4 separate regions of the Homo sapiens genome follow, and regions 1, 3 and 4 are each linked to region 2. Evidence: promoter capture Hi-C in human tissues and cell types (Jung and others, 2019). All regions are on one chromosome and are shown on one strand. Each heading gives the region's core, a stretch centred on a gene start or on the middle of the fragment in contact. The rest is flanking DNA. Distances are from core to core; before and after follow the strand shown. Region 1 overlaps SRP68 (signal recognition particle 68). Region 2 holds the start of RHBDF2 (rhomboid 5 homolog 2). Region 3 holds the start of FOXJ1 (forkhead box J1). Region 4 overlaps RNF157 (ring finger protein 157).

The links. Contacts are between HindIII fragments. The study calls those that stand out against the background at their distance.
Region 1: a fragment that was not itself captured here is called in contact with the fragment with the promoter of RHBDF2 in region 2 in 1 of the 25 tissues and cell types used here (adrenal gland).
Region 3: the fragment with the promoter of FOXJ1 here is called in contact with the fragment with the promoter of RHBDF2 in region 2 in 1 of the 25 tissues and cell types used here (heart left ventricle).
Region 4: a fragment that was not itself captured here is called in contact with the fragment with the promoter of RHBDF2 in region 2 in 2 of the 25 tissues and cell types used here (adrenal gland and dorsolateral prefrontal cortex).

Annotation. Positions count from the first base shown.
Region 1 is chr17:76,065,481-76,068,516 of GRCh38, reverse strand. It overlaps SRP68 (signal recognition particle 68), which reads left to right. Exons shown (of 16, transcript NM_014230.4): 3 at 1,187-1,300. Among named protein-coding and RNA genes, the nearest start is that of SRP68, 5.5 kb to the left of the region's middle. The HindIII fragment of the contact is 4,397 bases long and covers 1-3,036 here.
Region 2 is chr17:76,499,587-76,502,837 of GRCh38, reverse strand. It overlaps RHBDF2 (rhomboid 5 homolog 2), which reads left to right and starts at 1,415. Exons shown (of 19, transcript NM_001005498.4): 1 at 1,415-1,485. RefSeq lists enhancers at 998-1,137, 1,488-2,157 and a silencer at 1,188-1,827. The HindIII fragment of the contact is 32,589 bases long and covers 1-3,251 here.
Region 3 is chr17:76,139,473-76,142,745 of GRCh38, reverse strand. It overlaps FOXJ1 (forkhead box J1), which reads left to right and starts at 1,501. Exons shown (of 3, transcript NM_001454.4): 1 at 1,501-1,632; 2 at 2,182-2,848. The coding sequence starts at 2,351. RNF157 (ring finger protein 157) reads left to right here. Exons shown (of 19, transcript NM_052916.3): 19 at 1-272. RNF157-AS1 (RNF157 antisense RNA 1) reads right to left here and starts at 2,190. Exons shown (of 8, transcript NR_040017.1): 1 at 2,066-2,190. RefSeq lists silencers at 1,506-1,665, 2,344-2,413, 2,474-2,663 and an enhancer at 3,075-3,273. The HindIII fragment of the contact is 16,722 bases long and covers 1-3,273 here.
Region 4 is chr17:76,175,628-76,178,576 of GRCh38, reverse strand. The region is part of intron 2 of RNF157 (ring finger protein 157); the gene reads left to right. Among named protein-coding and RNA genes, the nearest start is that of FOXJ1, 36 kb to the right of the region's middle. The HindIII fragment of the contact is 4,379 bases long and covers 1-2,949 here.

The sequences.
Region 1 (3,036 bases), core at 211-2,710, 430 kb after region 2:
TTTCTTTACATTTATTAGAATCCTCCTCATTCTTCTTCTTCTTCTTTTTTTTTTTTTTTTTCAGACACAGTCTTGCTCTGTTGCCTAGGCTGGAGTGCAATGGCGTGTTCTCGGCTCACTGCAACCTCCACCTCCCGGGTTTAAGCAGTTCTCTGCCTCAGCCTCCCGAGTAGCTAGAATTATAGGCGCCCGCCCGCCATGCCTGGCTAATTTTTTTTTTTTTCGAGACGGAGTTTTACTGTTGTTGCCCAGGCTGAAGTGCAATGGCGCAATCTTGGCTCAACGCAACCCCCACCTCCTGAGTTTAAGCGAATGTCCTGCCTCATCCTCCCGAGTAGGCTGGGATTACAGGCATGTGCCACCACAACTGGCTAATTTTGTATTTTTAGTAGAGACGGGGTTTCTGCATGTTGGGCAGGCTGGTCTCGAACTCTTGACATCAAGTGATCCGCCCACCTCGGCCTCCCAAAGTGCTGGGATTACAGGTGTGAGCCACTGCACCCAGCCCCTCATTCTTTCTAGGCCCCGCCATCAGTCCACTGCAGCTGAAGGTGCTAACAAGAGAATGATTACCCATGTCCTTTCAACTTGACATTTGCCTTGTTTTCTTGGTTGCCATTTTCTCTGCATGATTCTACTCAATTTTAATGTGGGTTCCTTGAACATGGGCACTGTGTCCTCCATCTCTTTGTGTTTCCTATAATACCAATCATATTGCCCTCCATGTTTTAGTTGTTCAATAAATGTTTAGGGCCGGGTATGGTGGCTCATGCCTGTAATCCCAGCACTTTGGAAGGCTGGGGTGGGCGGATTGCTGGAGTCCAAGGATTTCGAGACCAGCCTGGGTGACATAGTGAAACCCTGTCTCTACAAAAAGTACAAAAATTAGCCATGTGTGGTGGTACACCTCTGTTGGTCACATCTACCCAGGAGGCTGAGGTGGGAGGATTGACTGAGCCTGGCTGCAGTGAGCCAAGATCACACCACTGCACTCCAGCCTGGGTGACAGAGCCAGACTCTGTCTCAAAGAAAAGAAAAAAATGTTTGGAAGCTGATATGTGATAATTCTAGTAACCATAAGTATAATATCCCAAACCATTGACCCTTGACCTTGCCTTATTGCAGAATTTATTATTCAAAATACTCTCAGCTTGGCTGAGTGAGTTTTGTTTGTGGTTTCTTACAGGGGCTACTGTTCCCGTAGACAAAGACGTCTTCGAAAAACACTCAACTTCAAGATGGGTAACAGACACAAATTCACAGGGAAGAAAGTGACTGAAGAGCTTCTGACCGATAATAGGTATTGACTGCTCCATGCTAGTTGCAAATTACTTCTTGCTAATACATTTATTGAACAATGACGTGGTAGACTTCATGCCAAACCTTTTAATTATCTCTGTGGGCTGGGCATTGTTTACTATTCCTGTGTTCTAAGGCAAGGAAACTGAGGCTCAAAGAGATACATTAGGTTGTTCAAGAACTGTGTTGGGGCCAGGTGCAGTGGTTCACGCCTATAATCCCAGCACGTTGGGAGGCCAAGGTGGGTGGATCACCTGAGGTCAGGAGTTCAAGACCAGCCTGGCCAACATGGCAAAACCCCTACTTTACTAAAAATATAAAAATTACCCGGGCATGGTGGCAGGCGCCTGTAATCCCAGCTACTCAGGAGGCTGAGGCACAAGAATTACTTGAACCCGGGAGGCAGAGGTTGCAGTGAGCCAAGATCACACCATTGCACTTCAGCCTGGGCAACAAGAGTGACACTCCATCTCAAAAAAAAAAAAAGGAGGGGGTGAGATTCACTGTCTCAGCTTTGGAGCCCCCCTTCCTCTGTCTCTGTACAGGGAAGCTTCTTCTCCCTTCTTGCCTATTAAACTCTGCTTTTTAAAACCAAAAAAAAAAAAAAAAAACCTGTTGGGATGGCAAATGTTGAAGTCAGTGATTAGAATCTAATTGATTATTAGGTAAGGTTTCTAGAATATAAATTTCAATGTCTGAAACTAGATGCATATATCAATATATCTTAATGAAATTGAGTGGTTGAGTGGTGTGTTTTTTTTTTTTTTTGAGACGGAGTCTCACTCTGTTGCCCAGGTTGGAGTGCAGTGGTGTCGTCTCACCTCACTGCAACTTCCACCTCCCGGGTTCAAGCTTCTCCTGCCTCAGCCTCCGGAGTAGCTGGGATTACAGGCACGTGACACCACGCCCAGCTGAGTTTTGTATTTTTAGTAGAGACAGGGTTTCACCATGTTGGCCAGGCTTGTCTTGAACTCCTGACCTCAGGTGATCCACCCACCTCTTGCCTTCCAAAGTGCTGGGATTACAGACGTGAGCTACTGCGCCAGGCTGGTGTGTAAATTATTATAGAAGAGTCTTGTATTTCAGTGCTGAATACACCAGTGCTTGGCATTTGCTGAAGAATTTTTAGTCTGTCAGGCAACATGTAGTCAAGGCCCCCGGGTCTTCCTCACAGTTACGGGCCAAATTACGCTGCTGCCACCTTTTGTGTAAATGAAGTTTTATTGGAACCCAGCCACGCCCATTCACATAGGTATTGTTTAGAGCTGCTTTGTGCTACATCAGCAGAGTAGTTGTGACACACTAGATATAGAAGGAGAGGAGGCATGGTCCTTGAACCTCATTGACTTTCATCTTATTGGAAAATGTTGGTCAGTGCAAACCAGGGAATGCTACAGTAAAAGTGCAATGTTGTATATCATTTACTGTTCAGCATTCTAAAGCCTTGGAAAGGAGACTTGAGCTTGAAGGCTTTTGACAGGGAAGTCAGTAAGCCCACACAGAGGAGGCTTGACCTTGAAGGATTTGTGAGAGTGAAGAACATTCTGTGTCGGGGGAAGCAGCATGCCCTGGTATCCGTGCATGCAGTCTAGGAACTGTAAAGCTCTGGACACTTGTTAGCTGCTACTCAGGCAGTGAAAAGGTTGTGAGCTTGGTGTGTACAGTCAGAAAGCTAGAGCCTGGAGACCATAATAGGATGCAGCAGGATGTAGTGATTAAATCTCATGAGAACCAGTT
Region 2 (3,251 bases), core at 166-2,665:
TCCCCTCACATCTCCCTCTGCCTCAGTTTTCTCATCCCTAAAATGGGGATGATCATAATGGTACCCACTTCATAGACCTGTACTGCGGATTATACAGACTAAAGCACTTTGGAATGGCTAGCTGCTCTCACCCTTCCTGTTACAGTATTGAGTTCCAACGTCTCCCTGTAGAATGCTGGCACTTCGTGGGCAGGCCCTGGTTTTGTTCCTCTCTGCACATAACCCCAGGATGTGCTGGTTGCACAATAAATGGTCCCTTACATTTGTTACTAGGAGCAACCCCCACCCCAGCTTTGGCCCACTCCCCCTCCTTCCAGCCTGTGCCCTCCTCATGGCCCCAGAGCTGGGGAGGAGAGATGCATCTCTCAGGATAATCTCCAGCAGCCAGGTGCTCCCCACCTCCACCCAGGTCAGCAATAAACACCAGAGTCCTTGGGTTGGGGGGCAGGGTGGCTCAGGAGCTCTCTAAGGGCCAGAGGTTTTGCCTTGGCCCTGACAACCCCACCCCCACCCCTCCAAGCCTGAGTCTCTTCAAACTCTGCTCCTCCTGGCCTAGCCAGGCCTCCTGGAGAGGGACGGCGAGATGATAAGCGCTGGGGCTGAGAACGGGGCATCCAGACCTTGGAGTTCGGTCCTAGCTGCCCTGGCCAAGGTTTTGTTTGTCTAGTCCCAAGAGGCAGGCCCTTGGAGTCCAGGGAAGAGAGAAGGAACCACCTGGGCAGACAGACCCAAGCCAAGGGGCCAGGTGTCGCCAGCGTCCCCAATCTCCAGTCTGGCTCTGGCCCGCATGGCAGCTGGAAGGGCCAGAGCTGGGTGGGTTCTGTCAATGCTTCTACGGGGTGTGTAGGGGGTTGGCAGGAGTCACAAATGTTGGCCTTAGCTGCAGGGCAAATGCAGATAGGACCTCCACGGAGTGCCTGTTCCCAACCCAAGGGCACAGCAGAGCTAGGAGAGAGGCCTCAGGGTCCAGGAGGGAGAGGAGGTGTTCAGGCCCAGCTTCCCGGAGAGAGTGTGACTACAGACTAAAAGGGTCAAGGGAACAGGCCCACTTGGCCTGAGGATGAGGGCGCTGGAAGAAGGGGATGGGAGATTGGGTGCTTTTTCTTGATGGGGAGGGGCGACTTGAAGACGGCAATCAAGACCTAGATGACGTGTTTGGTCTGGGGTGGAGTGAGGACGCCAAGAGGGAAAGGACGGCGCCCTGAAGAGACCAGCTCAGGCGAAAACAGGGCTCTGCCCAGGCGGGGACCCAGCTGGGTGGAGGGCGGAGGCAGGAACCCAGGAAGCCGACTGAGCAAAGACTGCGTCCAGGCCCCGCCCCCATGAGCCCGGCCACGCCCCCTGGAGCCCAGCCCCGCCTCCCGGCCGCCCGCGCGCAGGTAGGGAAGAGGCGGAGCGCCGCCGCCCCGCCCCCGAGGAGCCACCGCCCAGCCGCTCGCAGGCGCCGCACGGAGTTGCGTCCCGGGGACTTGGGGCCGCAGGGAGGTGAGCGCGGGGCGACGAGCGGGGCAGGACTCACGGCCGCCCAGCCGCAGGCGCCGGAAGGGTCCCGAGGTTGTGCCCGAGCCTGCCCTGGAGCGGTGGTGCGCGGCCAGGAAGGGTGCCCAGTGCCCGGTGCCCGCCCTGCGGAGCGCCTGGGTCCCACGTGGGCTCGGCTGGAGGCCCGGGCTGGCTCAGACGGCGCCGGCGGGGCCGCTGGACCCGGTCTGCTGGCCCCTAGGGCTCGGCTCGGACAGGACGCCTAAGGGGTCCCTGGGCGACGGGGCGCCAGATGTAGGGGCAAGACGATTGGGCAGAGATTTAAACCTCCGGAGGAAGAGAGGAGACTGCGCAGGGCAGTCCCGCCTGCGTCCCAGAAGTGCCTGCAGTTCAGACCCTTCTCTCCCCTCCACTTTCTCCCGGGTGAGCACCGGGCGGACCGGGGCCGAAGTTTGTTGGTTGAGCCAGCCAAGGTGGAAACAGGTGCGGGGGTGGGGATGAGGGACTCACACAGCAGGGCTGGACCGGAGCTCAGAAATTGGACCCAGGAGTCCTGACTTCTGGATGGAGGGGCTGGGGAAGGTTGGCCCTGGGCTTGCCTTTTACCTGTTTGGCCCCTCGGATGTTCCCCCAGGGCATTGGGATAGAGACGGATAAGTTCCCTAGGGTACAGACCCCGCCCCACTCCCACGCCAGGGCGCAAAGGAAGCCTAGGTTTTGGCCCTGCCCCATTCCATGAAAGATTAACGGAGGGGGCTCTAGGGTTGGAGCTACTGAGAGGGTGGCAGCGGGTGTGTCTGAGGAGCAGAAGGCGGTGGGGAGCTGACCCCACTTGGGGAGAGGCTGCTGTTGCCTGGGCGGCTGGCATCAGGCCCCCAGTGTGTGCCATTTGCTGGTAATATAATGAGACCAGCATCTGCCTTATTCGACCCTCACTGTCCGTAGGGCAGGCAGTGGAAAGGGAGGCGTGTTTTAGAGCTGTGGTTCTCAACCAGGGGCGACTTTGCCTGCCATGGGATATTTGGCAATGTTGGAGTCATTTTGGGTGTCACACACTTGGGAGGGGAAGTGAGTGTTGTTGTTACTGGCAGGTAGTGGGTAGAGGCCAGGGACGCTACCAGACATCTTCAGGGCACGGAACAGCCCACATAACGAGGAATTATCCAGCCCAAGGTGTTGGGCTGTGCTGAGGCTGAGAAACCCTGCGCAGCAGCTGGTCCATCAGGTTCCTTCTCAATGATGCTCCCTCACTGGGGAAACTACCTCAGTTTTCCAGAGTGGTTAGGGGAGGAACTTGGAATAAACCTGAATGAGATGAGGGGTAAGGCAGTGTGAGGGCACTTATTCCCCTCACAAGAGTCTTCCTTTGGTGCCATGAGACACCGCCTTTCCCAATCTCCACTGGCCCTGCAGGAAGCTGGTCTAGGTGCTGTGGGGGAGAGGTTGGGAACAGAGGACCCCCTTGCAGCCCAGGCCTGGGGTGCTTAACCCCAGGGCAATCTCCCAGGAAGGCTGGGCTGAGGCAGCCCTTGAGCTCAAATATCCCTGGGCTGGGAGGGTGGGCAGAGGGCGAGCTCTCTTCCCATAGATTTTCCCAAAGCTGGATTGCTGAAGCTGGCATGGTTGCCTGATACCATGTGACCTGCTGGAATTTTCCCTTCTGAACTCACACCTAACTCCTCCAATTATGTACACCTTTTGAAAGTGACATCCAAGGAGTATCAGGGCTCCTAATTCCTGGGGGGTCCCCAGGCTGCTTTTGTCCTGCAATA
Region 3 (3,273 bases), core at 252-2,751, 360 kb after region 2:
CACCACACTCTAAGCCGGCTGGCCTGGGAGTTAGGGTCCTGCCCACCTCACCTGGGAGTTGGGGTCCTGCCCACCTGGAGTTTAGCACGCTGGTCGCTCACTTTGCTTTGGTCTGCACACCTGGTGTGTGCATGTGTATACTGCTTGTGCCATCTGTGTACCCCTCTCCCTGGAGTACACTTGTGGTCACACTACAGTGGGGACATCAAGAATGCAATATTTATGGATTGCTGCATGATTCTTAAAAATGAATAAAACTGTTTACAAGGGAAGGAGAGCTAACTGCAAAGTGAGCTTATCTGTGAAAGTTTCTGTCTGACTTTCGCCAGCACTCTTTAATACTTTTACTCAAGAGGATCTGGAGTTGGAGGAGTGGGAGAGGCAAGGGCTAGGGAAAGGCATGTTGGCGGGGGAGTGATGCGCCATAGCCGGGCCTTCTTCATGGTCTGGGCACCAGCCTCCCCGACCCCGGCTCTCCAGCTCCTGGGCAGAGGCGGGGTAATCAACCCAGCCCCCACCACTGCCTCTGCAGCCGCCTTAAACCGGAGAACGTCCAACCCTGCAGCTCCTCAATAATTAAAGAGCAGGAAAGCTGGTGACAGGAGGGAGGCCAGGGGAAGGGAGGAGGAAGGGACACAGTCCCCAGAGTCCCTCTACTCTTAATCCCTGTGACTTAAAGGTTGGTGAAATTAATTGGGCAAATGACCCCGCTAGGAGAATTTGACAAGTCCATGACTTCAGAGTTTTACCCACGGGCTCTGCTTCATCAGCTGTCTCCAGAGGAGTGAGTGCGCTTCTGCAGAAGCCTCTGGAATGTCAGCTTCCTGGAACCTCGAGGATACGGGTGGGGAAGGAGCTGCTTACTGGGACACACTGGATTACCCTACCCCCTTGGTGTGTCTGCCGCCTCTGTGGATGTAAGCGGCAGGTGGCATCGGAAAGTCAGACCTGCCTGGGACACCAGAGAAAGACCCTAAGAGTCGGGGGAGAGGGAAAGGCTGCAGAAACATGAGAAAGTGCCACTCGTAGCGGAGAGGAAAGAAAACCTCAAGGATACGGTTCCCGAGCCTGAGCCCGCTCCCAGCCTTAGCCCCCCAACCCCAGGCTCCGTCCCAGGAGCAGTCGACGCCTCAAAGCGTACGGGACAGGAAGGGGGTGGGGGCGAGAGTCTTGGTTCCCCAGAACGAACGGATCCATAGCGGTTCCCGGTGCCGCAGGCCGCGCGCTTCTCCGACCCCAGCGCGGGGCCCTCGGGCGGGAATGAGCCGAGCCGGGACTTAGCGGCGGGTAGGGGGTTGGGTGGCGCGGGAGAGGGCGGCAGAAGGAGGGAGTTCGAAGAGAGTTGCCGCCAGGGAGAGTGGCAAGTGCCCGCGGTCTCCTTGGAGACGTGCTGGCCAATGGCAGAGGCGGAAGCTGTTTATGGGGGCGGAGCGTCGCCATGGCAGCAGGAGAAGCCTTTGGAGCGGCTACTTAATGCCGGTCCCGGGGCCGCGGTAGCTCAGAGAAGCGCCGTCGGGCGGGGGGGCGGCAAGAGGCGCTGGCAGGGCCCCCGAGCTGGGGGCAGAGAGCCGCAGGGGGTGGGAGCAACTTCTTCCAGAACCTTCCTCTGGCCCGGGCTGCGCTCTGAGCCAGGTAAGGGATGGGGAGGGCTGCAGGCCAGGGGGAAGGGTGGGCAACGGTACCAACCCGCTCTCTCATTCGTCCTTAACGGAAGTGGTGGGCCCAGGGACTGACATCGGAGAAGTCTGGGGGAAACTCGCCTCCTGCCCCCCGTTACTGTTCCGTCCCCTTCCTTCCCAATGATCCCCTATCATAATATTCCTTTTCAAGGATCAGAGGACCTCCACCGCCCCCGCCCCGTCGTACCGCCCTCCCAAACTTCTCGCCCCACTTCCATTTGTTGCGAGGAGGAAGGGGGTCCTGATTTCCTGCTCTTCGGGAGAAAAGGATAGCCTCGGATGCCCCTACCCTCTTCATTTGGCTAATAAAACCTCGAAGAGGAAAGGAAGAGGGAGGCAGATCTGATGGGGGTGGGACCCCAGGGCCTTGCTTCTGTTTCCCATACCTCGGCACTAAAAGATCCTCCCCAGCTGCGGGGATGATGTTAGAGAGGGCGTCCCCGTACACACACTGTCCCCTCGGGGGTGGGGTAGTGCTCAGCTCCCACCGTGGTCCTCGCAGGCACCACATACTTATTCGGAGGAGGCGCCCCCGGGGTCGCGAGATGGAAGCGCGCGTCCGGGAGGCCGTGTAACGGGAGCTGCGGGACTCAGCGGGCCAGAGAGCGCGGCGGGCCACCCCCGGCTCAGCCCGTGGATGCTGACCGCCCCCTCGGAGAGTCCCCGCAGACATGGCGGAGAGCTGGCTGCGCCTCTCGGGAGCCGGGCCGGCGGAGGAGGCCGGGCCGGAGGGCGGCCTGGAGGAGCCCGACGCCCTGGATGACAGCCTGACCAGCCTGCAGTGGCTGCAGGAATTCTCCATTCTCAACGCCAAGGCCCCCGCCCTGCCCCCGGGGGGCACCGACCCCCACGGCTACCACCAGGTGCCAGGTTCAGCGGCGCCCGGGTCCCCCCTGGCGGCCGACCCCGCCTGCCTGGGGCAGCCACACACGCCGGGCAAGCCCACGTCGTCGTGCACGTCGCGGAGCGCGCCCCCGGGGCTGCAGGCCCCACCCCCCGACGACGTGGACTACGCCACCAATCCGCACGTGAAGCCTCCCTACTCGTATGCCACGCTCATCTGCATGGCCATGCAGGCCAGCAAGGCCACCAAGATCACCCTGTCGGCCATCTACAAGTGGATCACGGACAACTTCTGCTACTTCCGCCACGCAGATCCCACCTGGCAGGTAGAGGAGGCACGGGCGGCGGCCGCTCCCTCCCCATTCCCTCCTCGCTCCCCACGCTGCACTGGATTCATATCCCAAATCTGCAGGCCAAGTAGGCTCTGCGGTGCGGCCAGCGCCCCAGAAGGGAGCCCTGCAAAGGAGCCCAGTTCTTGCAACTGCCCCTCCTTTGACTTCCAGAGAGAGAGAGAGAGAGAAGGGAGAATGTCCAGAGGTGGAGGGCTTTAGGGGTGCAGAGGCTGAGATTCAAGGGGAAATAACCTGCCATTCATCCAGCAGGCCCAGGCCAAAGACCAGGGCTAGACTCTGCGTGGACAGAATCTCCTTGGGGAGAGCGATGAACTGAAGGCGCATTCTTGTCCCAAGTCCTAGAATTCCTAGACACTGCCCTGCCCCGGGATGGTTTGTCGGGGCCGGGAGTCAGAAAC
Region 4 (2,949 bases), core at 325-2,824, 320 kb after region 2:
TTCGGCTCAGGCACATTGGGCTTCTTCCACCCACTTGGCCTGACAGGCTGCACTCAGCTCACACTACCAGCCTATATCCCACGCCTCCAAGGGAGACTGCAAGTCAGGCATGGAGCAGCAAGGGGTGTGTGAGCGAGAGTGGGGTCCGGCCACTGTGCAGTCAGACACGCCAGCTGCCGCTGTGGGGCTGGCAGCCCCAGGTGCCAGTATAGGTGCCAGCTGTCTGCGAGGCTGTGGCTGGACCAGGTGCACTGCAAGCAGCTCTCCCGGTTGGCACCAGGGAATGTGGTGGCACCCGGAAGCTTGGAGATGCCAGGAACTACAGGGCCACAAAGAGGAAGTCATAGCCCTGGCTTGGGCAGCTCCCAGGTCTGGGCTCCCCGACGGGCCACAGCTCTTCTCTCCTCTTTGCCTGCAACATGACAAGCAAGGAGCATGTTTCAGTCCTGTTTGTGTTACAGCTCTTTTAGTCCCACCATTCCATGGGTCCAAAATTCTTGTCCTGCAACAAGGAAGAATGAGATACACAGACAAACATAGGGTGAGCAAGACGAAGAGGAGCCTTATTGAGCCTTGGAACAGCTCAGAGGATACCCGCAGTGGGTAGCTCTTTCCGCAGCCAGGGTGTCCTGACAAGTGTCCTAGCATAGAGACCCTGGAGTGGGAAGCTCTTTTCCGCAGGAAGGTCATCCTGTCTTCTCTGCAGCTCTCAGCAGAGAGGAGGCCCTGGAGTGCGTAGCTCCTCTCTGCAGCTGGTCTTATGGACATCTCTGCAGCTATCAGCAGAGAGGAGGCACTGGAGTAGGTTGCTCCTCTCTGCAGCTGGTGGTCCCAACCTCTGCTCTGTTCTGGCTGAGCCTGGGCCTTTTATGGGCCTCAGAGGGGAGGAAGTGCAGGTAGACTGGTCCCTGGGCATCCATGGGCAGGCCTAGAAAAGGCAACACAAGTTCCCACTCCAGTGGGCGGGACTGGCAGCCAGGCCCCCAGCCTTCACGTCCTCCCTGAAGGCCAGCACCAAGCTGCCCTCAGCACCCCCTCGCCTCTCCCCCTTCCCCTTCCCTCATGCTCATCAGTGCCCAAAGTCTGGAAGGGGCCGAGGCAGCAGGGGGCTGGCTTGTCAGCGCTACCCCGAGCATGTGCACTCCTAGCCTGGCTGCAACAGCACCTTGGCTTGGCCCCACACTGCTCTAAGATCAGAGCCAGCACCAAGAGCAAGCAGAAGCTAGGCGGCAGGAGCAGGCACTTCCGAGCCTGCTGGGGCGGGGGGGTGGGAGGGCTTTTCCGTGTCTCCAAGAGCTTATGGAGGCCCCCGATCCACAGCCCAAGGCGGGGCTGCTGCCTGTTCCTGGCTTCCACCGGCTCTGTGGAGCATGCAGCCCCTGCAGCACCCCCTTGCAGCCTGGGGCAGGGGCTCCAGGTCCTCACTGGGCCGGGGCCAGGGCCGGGGCCAGTGTCCAGGGCAGGGTGACATCGCCATGAGCTCTGCCTGTTCCCCCGGTGCTTCACGGGCAGTCTGGGACAGAGTGGATCCTGGGCCTGGGCCTGGGCCAGGCCATCTGCCCAGGAGTGTCAGGCTCAGTGGTCACCCCAATGTGGGGCAGACCTGGGGGCGCAGCCCCAGACGGGCTGCGCAGAACCTCCTCCCGAGGCACAGGAACCTGGCACCCTCGGCAGGGTGGGCACAGTGGCTGCGCCAATGGCCAGGTGCCCGAAGCGGAAGCTGCTCCCACTTCCTGCCCGGGGCCCCTGAAGCATGGCCCCAGCTCCGCGCCCAGGCCTGGCCCTGGCGCTCCATGAGCAAGCGGGACACTGGCCAAGGCCCAGCTCCGCCTCGGGGCTCCTCTTTGCCCTACCGCGCTGCTCTTCTGCCACGCTGCTCCTCTGCTGGTGGGTAACCCGGCCAGCCCCATGGGGTGGCCTCCAGGGCGGCAAGCTGTGGAGGGGCTGTCTGTCTGCTCCCTGCGACCCCCCTGCAGCAGCCGTTGTGATGGCAGCGGCTGCTCTGGACAGCCCACCACTGTCATCAATAGTAAGCACTCAATAAATGGTAATTTTTGAAAGGAAGATAACTCACTAAGAAATTTCGAGAGTAATAGTAGGCAAAATCGATTTACAGAAGAATGGGAGACAACTCTAAGAGCAGAAAAAAAATTTTTTTTAATTTGCCTCTGATCCTACTGTCCCCTCCATCTTCTCTGTTATCTCTGAATTTGCAAATTTCATTTATCCTTTAGGATCCCAGATCAACTACCAACTCCTCCATGAAGCCTTCAGATTACCTCAGCCAGAAATGATCACTTCCTTTATTTTTGCCTTTTGTGGCAAAAAAATATCCATATATTTAATCTCTTTGATATTACAATTACTATGTCAGCTGCCTTATAATGCAGCTTCCTGAAAGAGCAGGGCCTTATCTTCTTGGTTTTCAATCTCTCCTTACTCCTGGCATGGAGTGTTGCATGTAGACTCTGATTGCATGAATGCAAGGCCAGCAAGGCACAAACTTTGGTGGGTAGCAGCCCACGAACAAGCTTCTCCTGAACAGATTTGCCGTTGTTGTCTTGTGCGTGTATGTGTGTGTACAGGGAGAGCCTAAAGTATAGGGGTGGATTTATAAACAATTGAACTCATTGATACCTTTCCTTAAGAGCCAAATAGCTTATGTTTCATTGCCACAGTTATCATCAAATATATTCAAAATGGAGGATAAAGAGTGCCAGGATTTTTTTTTCTTTCTTTTTATTTTTCTCTCTTTTGCGGCAGGGAGTGGCTATGGAGGAGAAAGAGTAAAGAATAAGGGAAAAGACGCATCTTTTTTTTGAAATGCAGGTAGGAGTTATGGATAACGCCCAAGTACCTGTACAAATGAAAATGATTAACTTTGCTACTCCAGAAAAAAATTTTAATCCCAAAGTCATTTATTTTGGCTTTAGAATAGACTAGCGTTTG